Regions from separate parts of the Homo sapiens genome. Here all the other regions are linked to region 1. The links are contacts of gene promoters, found by promoter capture Hi-C in human tissues and cell types (Jung and others, 2019). All regions are on one chromosome and are shown on one strand. Each heading gives the region's core, a stretch centred on a gene start or on the middle of the fragment in contact. The rest is flanking DNA. Distances are from core to core; before and after follow the strand shown. Region 1 holds the start of CCKAR (cholecystokinin A receptor). Region 2 has its middle 20 kb from the start of TBC1D19. Region 3 overlaps TBC1D19 (TBC1 domain family member 19).

Evidence for each region. The method cuts DNA at HindIII sites, captures the fragments that hold promoters and counts their contacts. A contact is called where the count stands out against the background at its distance.
Region 2: a fragment that was not itself captured here is called in contact with the fragment with the promoter of CCKAR in region 1 in 2 of the 25 tissues and cell types used here (neural progenitor cells and thymus).
Region 3: a fragment that was not itself captured here is called in contact with the fragment with the promoter of CCKAR in region 1 in 2 of the 25 tissues and cell types used here (IMR-90 fibroblasts and lymphoblastoid cells).

The regions. Positions count from the first base shown.
Region 1 is chr4:26,488,410-26,492,064 of GRCh38, reverse strand. It overlaps CCKAR (cholecystokinin A receptor), which reads left to right and starts at 1,581. Exons shown (of 5, transcript NM_000730.3): 1 at 1,581-1,909; 2 at 2,581-2,832. The coding sequence starts at 1,798. The HindIII fragment of the contact is 14,703 bases long and covers 1-3,655 here.
Region 2 is chr4:26,561,856-26,565,475 of GRCh38, reverse strand. No RefSeq gene overlaps it. Among named protein-coding and RNA genes, the nearest start is that of TBC1D19, 20 kb to the left of the region's middle. The HindIII fragment of the contact is 9,820 bases long and covers 1-3,620 here.
Region 3 is chr4:26,585,638-26,589,432 of GRCh38, reverse strand. All of the region lies in intron 1 of TBC1D19 (TBC1 domain family member 19), which reads right to left. Among named protein-coding and RNA genes, the nearest start is that of TBC1D19, 3.5 kb to the right of the region's middle. The HindIII fragment of the contact is 5,892 bases long and covers 1-3,795 here.

The DNA.
Region 1 (3,655 bases), core at 332-2,831:
AAAGAGGCACCACTGTCTTTCCAGCCCCACACTGACAGTAAAAATGCGTTAGTTCCTCTGTGTCTGGCAGAGACTCAGCAAGATGTAGCATGCAGCTCTGCCAGTGGAAGCATTGTCAGTACACAAGGAGCCCCACGGGTATCTAGCAAATGGACCAAGTCTCAGCACAGCCAAGCAGGGCGTCAGAAACGCAGGTTTCACAGCCATTGTCGTCTGCTTTCCAAAGGGTCTGAACTGAGGACATAATCTGTGCAATGGAGGTTGAAGGGCTTTCCAGCACCACAGAGCTTCATGGAACACCCAGGACCCTGAGATGGCCCCCCTCTCTGATCTCACGTCCTGCTGTTTGCCTCTCACTCACTCCTACTTCTATCTATTTGTACCTCAATGGGGCCACACTCATTCCCACCTCAGGGCCTTTGCACTTGCTGTTACCTCTGCTAAAAGTGCTCCTCCTTTTGCCTGGGAGAAGCTGTCTTGGGATCTTCACAAGACTTTGTCCTTCTTGTGGTTCAGTCTCAGATCACAGTCCCCTCCTTAAGAGACCTCTCCTGACTACCCCTTCTAAATCAGCAGCCCCAGGCCAGGTGCAGTGGCTCACGCCTGTAATGCCAACACTGGGAGGCCAAGGCAGGAGGATTGCTTGAGCTCAGGAGCTTGAGACCAGCCTGGGCAACATAGCGAGACCTCCTCTCTTCTAAAACTAAAAAAATCAGCTGGGCTTAGTGGTGTGTGCCTGTAGTCCCAGCTACTCAGGAGGCTAAGGTAGGAGGATTGCTTGAGCCAGGGAGCAAGGCTGCAGTGAGCCATGATCGCGCCACTCCACTGCAGCCTGGGGAACAGAGCAAGACCCTGTCCCCGCCCCCCAAAAAATCAGCCCCTAATCTGTTTGTATACATCACATCTCCCTGCTTTACTCCCTTTGTAGTACTTACTACCTGAAATAATTCTGCTCATTATTTGCTGACATGCTAGAAAAGTGCCTGGCAAATGATTGACTCTCAATGAAGATGTGCTGAATGCAAGGCTTCATGAATGAAGAGGAAATCTCACTAACGTCTTTTGTAATAAGGACCCAGGTACCTATGTTCAAAAGTGCCTCAATCCTAGTTAACAAGGGCAGAGACCACGAGAAACAACACTGTGTTTAGTAGCAACTTAACAACCAGCCAGCAGTTCTGTCCACACACACACCACCGGGCATGGTTCCAAAGCTAAAAAGGCACTAATTGCTTTTCTATAAGGAGGTAGAACACAGTCCCTCCGTGTTCTTTAGGCCTGATGGTCTGCATTATCGGATCTGTTACCGTGTTAATTGTTCCTGTCTCACACAGCCGGTTTGGGCTTTCTTCTGCATATGTCTGGGATGGTGACGGGTTCCTATATAGAGGAGTACTGGGGAAGCCTCTGTGTGTGTGTGTGTGTCCGTGCATATGTACACATGTGTGTAAAAAGCAGCCACACGCTGAGAATGGTTAACGGGTAGCCAGGCTGTCTGTACTCAGGGCCCTAAGACTGGCCCAGGAAAGGGCCGGGGGAGGTGGGGCGGGGTGAAGGTGGAGCGGGCTTGGCTTGTGCTCACTGCCTTTTCCACAACAGGAGTACAAATGCTGGAGTGAGTGAGGTGAACTCAAGTCGCCTTTAGGAATGGCTGAAAAAGCCCACACCTGGAAATCACTCCCTCCCTGCTCCTCCACGGCAGGTTGCATCTGCGAGACGCTTCGGTCATTAGAGGAATGAGCCGGGAGTGAGCAATTCACCAGCTCTCCAGCACTTGGTGGAAAGCAGCAGGCAAGGATGGATGTGGTTGACAGCCTTCTTGTGAATGGAAGCAACATCACTCCTCCCTGTGAACTCGGGCTCGAAAATGAGACGCTTTTCTGCTTGGATCAGCCCCGTCCTTCCAAAGGTAAGTGTCGGAAGCTGTTATTTTAATTCAGGAAACTATTGAGTTGTGGGAGAAATCAGCAAAGGCAAGGCTGATAAAAAATATATATAACCAAGTCATTGTGAGACAAGGCTAGATAAAGTCATATGTTCAGAAGTTTGGAGAAGAGATTAAAAAGCAGAATAGAGTCAAATATTCTTATTGTCCCCCATGGGGGAGTTGGGCATTCATGAATAGGACTTGGGGGAACAAAAGCAGGGGAGGAAAAGCTGAGTGAAGCAAGAGGGACTACAAGTGTCAAAGCCTGAACTTACAAGCACAGCAGAAAAGGTGTTGTCACCATGCAGCTGTTTTCTTTTCTTGGGGGGAAACCCAGCATGAAGTGATTAAAGTGAAATAATGCTTAGCAGCCAGGAAAGAAAGTGATCACTGTTCACTTGAGGAGCTTTGTTCTTAAGAAAAAGTGGTTCCCTGAGTGATCCTTTAACAAACCAACCTTCTAAAAAGAAAATAATTCAGTCTCTGCTTTCCTCAATTTGTTTCCGCAAAATGTTGCCAGGACAGGAATCGTGGGTCCAGTGATGTACACCCCGGTGGGGGGAAAATCGGCAGGAATTCACCCTTGGCTTCGGTTTTAGCATTCTGCTGTCATCACCTCCATCCCTCCGTCTTGCTCCTGTTTCTCTCTGCAGAGTGGCAGCCAGCGGTGCAGATTCTCTTGTACTCCTTGATATTCCTGCTCAGCGTGCTGGGAAACACGCTGGTCATCACCGTGCTGATTCGGAACAAGCGGATGCGGACGGTCACCAACATCTTCCTCCTCTCCCTGGCTGTCAGCGACCTCATGCTCTGTCTCTTCTGCATGCCGTTCAACCTCATCCCCAATCTGCTCAAGGATTTCATCTTCGGGAGCGCCGTTTGCAAGACCACCACCTACTTCATGGGTAAGTTGCTGCTGGTGACTCTTTCTGGAGCTTGCCCCAGACCCCACTCAGCCCCAGACCTTCCCAAACCTCTGACAATCACAGCAAAGGAGCCCTGCTGAGGGCTGAATCACAGAACATCAGGCTGTGCATGGCTGTGTGCACGGACATTGGTGCTGGCTTGACAGTCATCCTTATACGTTCCCCACAAGTCGGTCCCCATCATCCATGTTGGAGGTCAGTTTCTAAGAGTGAAATAAATTGATAGGAAAACACAGGGGCAGTTGATTTTGCTTGCTTCTATTTGAAGGGAAGAGGGACTTGCTTGCTTCTGTTTGAAGTCAGAAGTGACTTTAAGCTGCTCTATCCCTTTCTGGAAGCTGTTGACTGTGTCCTGATCTATACACAACTTGAGTCCTGGCTTCTAGGGAGGGTGAGGATGATGGAGGAGGGTTCTTTGCAGTTGTTTCTTTTGTTTTCTTAGGGAACAGGGGCTATTTGAAAACCAGTTCTATCGCAGTTTCAGATTCTCTTCTCAGGATTCACTTCCCAGCCTGTTCTCCCCAAAGCTGGGGCCATCTCTGGCAGAAAGAGAGAGAGAGAGAGGTCTCTGCCCCTAGATGAGGAGTTGAATTTGCTCCTGGGGGCTATGGGGTCGCTAAGCTGACCCTGATTGGCTGAGATATATAGCTCTTTGCCTATGCCAAACAAAAATGATGATAATGAAAATCATAAGAGCTAAATTTTTTTAGCGCTTTTATGCACCCCATGTGGTACTAAGTGCTTTGCCTTCCATGATCTTACCTTATCTCCCAACCACTCTATGAAGTAAATGCAATGATTC
Region 2 (3,620 bases), core at 624-3,123, 73 kb before region 1:
ATTCTATTAAGAAACTTTTAAACCACTACGTAACTACTGACCTGAATTAGCAGTCTTTAAAACAGGACTGTGGGATCAGGATTAGAAGTTCTATTTATATGCATTTATCTTAAAAAAATGAAATTAGCCTTCATTATTGTATTAGTCTGTTCTCATGCTGCTAATAAAGACATACCCAAGACTGGGTAATTTATAAAGAAAAGAGATTTAATGGACTCACAGTTCCACATGGCTGGGAGGCCTCACAATCATGGCAGAAGGTGAATGAGGAGCAAAGTCAAATCTTATATGGTAGCAGGCAAGAAAGAGTGTGTGCAGGGGAACTCCCCTTTATAAAACCATCAGATCTTGTGAGACTTATTCACTATCATGAGAACAGCATGGGAAAGACCCACCCCCATGATTCAGTTACCTCTCACCAGGTCCCTCCCACGACACATGGGAATTATGGGGGCTACAATTCAAGATAAGATTTGGGTGGGGACAATTGTTATTTACTAGAAGCATGGTCCACACTCAGTCACCTATTCTCTAGCCATGTTGCCCACTCAGCATGGGAGGTGTACTGGTGGAAGAATCCCATGAGGAGCTGACAGTGGTAGCCACATGTACTTCACTTTCAGCAGTTTGAGGCACGTGGGCTTCAGCCAGGGGAAGTAGATTTACAGAGGTATGCTCAAATTTCAGTTAAATCAACCTTCCCAAGTGGAACAACAACAAAAAAAAGATGTTGCAGAGAAATCATAGACCAACTCTATCACGTTAATAATGCAAGGATGCACACAAAATGGCAAATCTGTTATTTTGTGACTACCTAGTACAAGCCCTTTATCAGTCACATGACAATTTGTAAAAGAAATGTTGTAGAGAAATATATGACTAGAAGTTGGCCAAAATTTCTCAAAAATATTAATGTCTATCTGAAATATAGGTTTATATCCACTCTCACAAATGATAATCTTCTTTGTAAATGTATCTTGTGTGTGAGATATTAGTTATTGATAGTCTAGAAGCATCACAATTTGCAAGACCCTTAAAGGCTAAGCAGGCAAAAATTATGGGGAGACAGCAGAGTAGGAACCAACAGAATCTATCTTCCTACCTAGACAATAATTACACTGGCAGAATCAGTGCAATATAACTATTTTGGAACTCTGGAGTCTATTGAAGGCTTGCAAATTCCAGGTGAAGGTTAGAACAGTAAATTGCAGTCAATTTCAGCTCTTAGCTCAGCAGCAGCAATCCTACAGGGTGAAGTGAAAGGACACTGGACAGTAACTTGAATCAGTATAAAGATAAAAGATCCCAAGAAAGGTAAATACATGTGCAGTTATGAAAGGAAGTATTATTGTAACTTTTGTTTGTAATTCCACATATTGTTTTCTACATCATTTAGGAGGTGGCCAATGAAGTAAAAAAAAAATTGGTTTATGTTTTAGGGCTTACAATGTAAAAAGATAATGTCATGACATCAATAACTAAAAGAGATGGGAATAGAGTTGTTAAGGAGCAGAGTGTTTTTATGTTATTGAAGTTAAGATGGTATACATTCTAATTAGAGCATTATAACTTGCAGATATTAAATATAATCCCCAAAGAAATGACAAAGAAAATAGATATAGAATGTAAAAAAATGAAATGAGAAGGGAATTAAAACATTTCACTACAAAAATATACAACCAAACACAAAAAAAGATAGTACCACAGAAAATGAGGGAAAAAGAAAAGCTATAAGGCACATATAAAACAAACAGGAAAATGACAGAAGTAGTCCCTTCTTATCAGTAATTACTTCAAATGTGAATGGATAAAATTCTCCAATCAAGAGATAGATTGGCTAAATGGATTTTTGAAAGATCCAAATATATGCCATCTACAGGAGACTCACTTTAGATACAAAGAAAGAAATACATTGAAAATGAAAGGATAGAAAAAGATATTTCATGTAAATAGTAACCAAAAGAGGGTAAGTGTGGCTATACTTACGTAAGACAAAATAGACTTCAGATCAAAAAAATTTATAAGAGGCAAAGAAGAGCATTATATGTTAGTAAAAGGTTCAATATAGTAAGAAGATGAAGCAACTATAAACATTTATGTACCTAATAACAAATTATCAAAATATATGAGCAAAAATGAACAGAATTGAAGGGAGAAATAGACAGTTTTACAATAATAGTTGAAGATGTTAATAGCTTTCTGTCCATAGTGGACAGAACTGAAGAGAGAAATAGACAGTTTTATAATAATAGTTGAGGAAGTTAATAGCTTACTGTCAATAACGGACAGAGCAACTAGACAGAAGATAAGTAAAGAAATAGAGAACTGAACACATAATAAACCCACTAGATCTAACAGACATATACAGAACACTAACCAACAACCGCAGAATACACGTTCTTCACAAGTGCACATAAGACATTTTTCAGGATACAGCATATATTAGTTTTAATAAATTTTAAATGATAGGTATCTAAAAAGTATGTTTTCCAACTATAAGTGAATGAAATTAGAAATGAGTAACAGAAGAAAAATTGGAAAACTTATATTATTCAAAATTAAACATCATACTTTTTTTGAGTTTAGGTCTCACTCTGTCACCCAGCTGGAGTACAGTGCAGTGGCTTAATCATAGCTCACTGCAGCCTTGAAATCCTGGGCTCAAGCAATCCTTCCACCTCAGCCTCCTGAGTATTTAGGACCACAGGCACCCACCACCATGCCTGGTTATTTTTTTTTTCTTTTGTAGAGATGGAGTCTTGCTATGTTGCCCAGGCTGGTCTCAAACTCCTGGCCGCAAGCAATCCTCCCAAAGGGCTGGAATTACAGGCATGAACCACTGCCCTGGCCAACAACACACTCAAACAACCTATGGATTAAAGAGGAAATCACAAGGGTGATTTAGTGATGAATGAAAACAAAAATATGGCATACCAAAACTATGGGACACAGAAAAAGTAGTGCTAAGGAGGAAATGTATAGCTATAAACACTAATATTAAAAAGCAGAACTCAAATCAACAGCCTAACTTTACCATTTAAGGAACTAGAAAAAAGTTAAACCCAAAGCTAGAAGGAAGGAAATAAGAGTCAAGTGGAGAGAAATGAAATAGAGAGAGAAAAACAATGGAGAAAATCAATAAAATCAAAGATAGGTTGTTTGAATAGATCAACAAAGTTGACAAATCTTTAGCTAGGTTGACCAAGAGAAAAAAAGAGAGACTCAAATTACTAAAATCAGAATGAAACTGGGGACTTTACTACTAATTCTACAGAAATAAAAAGGATTACATGAACAACTGTATTATAACAAATTGAATAACCGAGATAAAATGGACAAATTCCTAGAAACACAAACCTACCAAGACCTAATCACAAAGAAATAGAAATCTGAACAGATCTATAATTAGTAAGGAGGTTAAATCAGTAATGAAAAAAATCTCCCAACAAAGAAAGCCCAGGACCTGATGGCTTTACTGGTGAGTTCTATTAAACATTTAAAGAAGAGCTAACACAGATTCTTCTCAAACTTTTTCTTAAAATTAAAGAAATGGAAACACTTCTTAATTCGTCCTATGAGGGCAGTAATACCTTGATATCAAAGTCAGACAAAGATACTAC
Region 3 (3,795 bases), core at 1,133-3,632, 97 kb before region 1:
TCTCCCCCTGAGGAACAGGCAAGGAGACAGAAGAAAGTCAAGGATGTAGTAGAAACAATGAGAAAAACTCTGTAGTACCCTAAGATCTATGCCAAGCACAAAGTAACAGCAGTCTACTACTGGGTTTTGTTGTTGTTGTTGTTGTTGTTTGTGTTTTTGAGATGGAGTCTCGCTCTGTCCCCTAGGTTGAAGGGCAGTGGCACGATCTTGGCTCGCTGCAACCTCCACCTCCCGGGTTCAAGCAATTCTCCTGCCTCAGCTTCCCGAGTAGTTGGGATTACAGGAATGCACCACCACACCTGGCTAATTTTTGTATTTTTAGTAGAGACAGGGTTTCACCATGTTGGCGAGGCTGGTCTCAAACTCCTGGCCTTAAGTGATTTGCCCACCTCAGCCTCCTAACTACCTCTAGTTTCAAAGGAATCTGAAGCCTGTGATATACTGAAGGTAATGACAACAATAACAAAACCCAAACCCAGCTTGATCCTTGTCTATATTGACTGAAGCCCCTACACTCAGTAAGGATATAGAATACTGAAACAAAATTGCCTACTAGACCTAATTGACAATTATGGAACAGAAACAGCAGAATAAGCATGCTTTTCAAGTACATATGAAACAAACAAGATAAAACATATTCTGGATCATAAAAGTAAGTAAACAGCTAAAATCATACATATTTTATTCTTGACCATAAGAGAATTAAACTAGAAATCAATCAGAGAAAGATAGTGGTAAACAACACATTTATAAATAACCCATGGGTTATTAGAACCCATAAAATCACAAGAGAATTTTTTTAAATTTTAATTGGGTGAAAATGGCAATAGACTATATCCTAATTTATAGACACAGATAAACCAGTACATAGAAAGAAATTTAGAGCATTTAATTAGAAGAGAATAAAGGTCTCAAATCAAAAATTTAAATTTCACCTAAATAGCTTTAAAAATGCAAATTAAATCCAAAGCAAGCAGAAAAAAATAATAAAGGAAAAAAATCAGAGCGATTGAAAACAGAAAAACAATCAAACCAAGAGCTACTTCTTTGAAAGTATTGATATAATTGATAAATCTCTAGCCAGATTAATTAGGGAAAAAGAACACATGGCCAGGTGCGGTGGCTTATGCCTTTAATCCCAGCCCTTTAGGAGGCCAAGGCGGGCGGATCACGAGGTCAGGAGATCGAGACCATCCTGGCTAACACGGTGAAATCCTGTCTCTACTAAAAATACAAAAAATCATCTGGGCGTGGTGGCAGGCGCCTGTAGTCCCAGCTACTCAGGAGGCTGAGGTAGAAGAATGGCGTGAACCCGGGAGGCGGAGCTTGCAGTGAGCCGAGATCATGCCACTGCACTCCAGCCTGGGCGACAAAGCGAGATTTCACCTCAAAAAAAAAAAAAAAAAAAGAACACATATGACAGTATAAGGAAGGAAGGAGGGGCTATCACTACAAATCCTACAGACACTAAAAGGAATATAAGGGGATCATATAAACAATTTTATACCAGTAAATTCGTTAAAATAAATTAAGTGCGGCAACTTCTTGAAACATAAAAACTACAAAAGCTTACAGAAGAAGAAATAGATAACCTGAATGGCCTGCATATATTTTTAATTGAATTTTTTTAATTAAAAATGTGTCCATAAAGAAAACTCTAGGCACCAGTGACTTTGCTGGGAACTCTACCAAATATTTAAGGAGCAAATAATATTAATTCTACATAAATTCTTCCAGAAAATAAGGAACACTTCCCAACTTATTTTATAAGATCATCATTAACTGGTATCGAAAGCAGACAAAGTGTTACAAGAAAAAAAAAAACTACAAAGAAATATCTTTTTTTTTTTTTTTTTGAGACAAGGTCTGGCTCTATCACCCAGGCTGAAGTGCAGTGGTGCGATCTCTGCTCACTGCAACCTCTGCTACCCAGGTTCAAGCCATCCTCCCACCTCAACCTCTCAAGTAGCTGGGACTACAGGTGCGCACTGCCACACTGGCTAATTTTTGTATTTTTTGTGGAGATAGGGTTTTGCCATGTTGCCCAGGCTGGTCTCAAACTCGTGAGCTCAAGCGATCTGCCCACCTTGGCCTCCCAAAGTGCTAGGATTACAGGCATGAGCCATCGCGCCTGGCCACAAACCAGTATCTTTCATAAATACAGTTACAAAATCTTCAGCAAAATGTTAGCAAATTGAGTCAAGAAATATATAAAAAGAATAATGCATCATAACCAAGTGGAATTTATCTCAGGAATACAAAATTGGTGCAACATTCAAAGCCAATCAGTATTATTCATCATATCAACATGAGCAGGAAAAATAATATGAACATATCTACAGATATAAAAAAGTACTTAACAAAGTTCAACATCCATTCATGATAAAACTCTCAGAAAACTAGGGATAGAATAGAGCTTCCTCAACCTGCAAAAAAGCATCTGCAAAACATTGCACTGGAGGCATTATCCAGTACAGTAAGTCAAGAAAAAGAAATAAAAGGCACACGGATTGGAAAGGAAGAAGTAAAACTGTCTTTAGTTCATTATGATACATGTACCTGGAAAATCTTAAGTAATCTACAGAAAAGGTACTATAACCAATATATAAGTTTAGCAAGTTCTCAGAATACATGGTAAATAGATTAATATCAATTGCATTTCTGTATGTTAAAAATAAAAAATTAAAACTTAAGTCACCATTTATAATAGCGTCAAAAACCACAAAATACTTAAGGGGAAAATCTCAACAAAGAGTATGCAATATTTGTGTGCTGAAACTACAAAACACTGACAAGAGAAAATAAAAACAACATAAATAAATGAAAAGATAAACTGTGTCCATGGGCCAGAAAATTTAATATTGCTAAAAATCTCGATTCTCCCCAAATTGATCTACAGATTCAACATAATCCCAATCCAATTTTCAACAATTTTTGTAGTAATTTATAAGAGGATTCTAAAATTTATATAGCAAAGCAAAGGACCTAGAATAGCCAAAATAATTTTGGGAAAAAAAGGAACAAATTTGGAGGACTTTGATCTCAAGGCTTACTATAAAGTTACAAAAAGCAAGACAGTGTGGTATTGTATGATGAACAAATAGATCAATGGAACAAAATAGAGAGCCAGAAATTTTGTGTGTGTGTGTGTAATTGATTTTCGACAAAGGTGCCAAGGAAATTAGCAGAGAAAGGATAGGTTTTTCAGCAAATCAGTAATGGAAATACTGGATATCCATATGCAAAAAAAAAAAAAAAAAAGCTTACCTTGCACCATATACAATAATTAACTCAAATGGATCACAAAATGGATCACACTTCTACATTTAGGATCACAGACCTAAATGTAGAAGCTAAAACTATAAAACTTCTAGAACAAACAAACATAGTAGAAACTTTTTTAAGACCTTGAGTTAGGCAAACACTTTTAGGTAGGGAACAAAAAGCACAAATCATAAAACAATTGATAAAAATTTATGTCACCAAAATTAAGCATTTTTCTCTTTCAAAGACCCAGTTGAGAAAATGAAAAGATAATCCACAGACTGGGCAGGGTGTGGTGGCTCACGTCTGTAATCCCAGCACTTTGGGAGCCTGAGGCAGGCAGATCACTTGAGATCAGGAGTTCAAGACCAGCCTGGCCAACATGGTGAAACCCCATCTCTACTGGAAACATAAAAAATTAGCTGGGCATGGTGGTGGATGCCTGTAATCCCAGCTATTCAGGAGGCGAAGGCGGGAGGATCACTTGAACCTGGGAGGCAGAGGTTGTAGTGAGCCGAGATCACACCACTG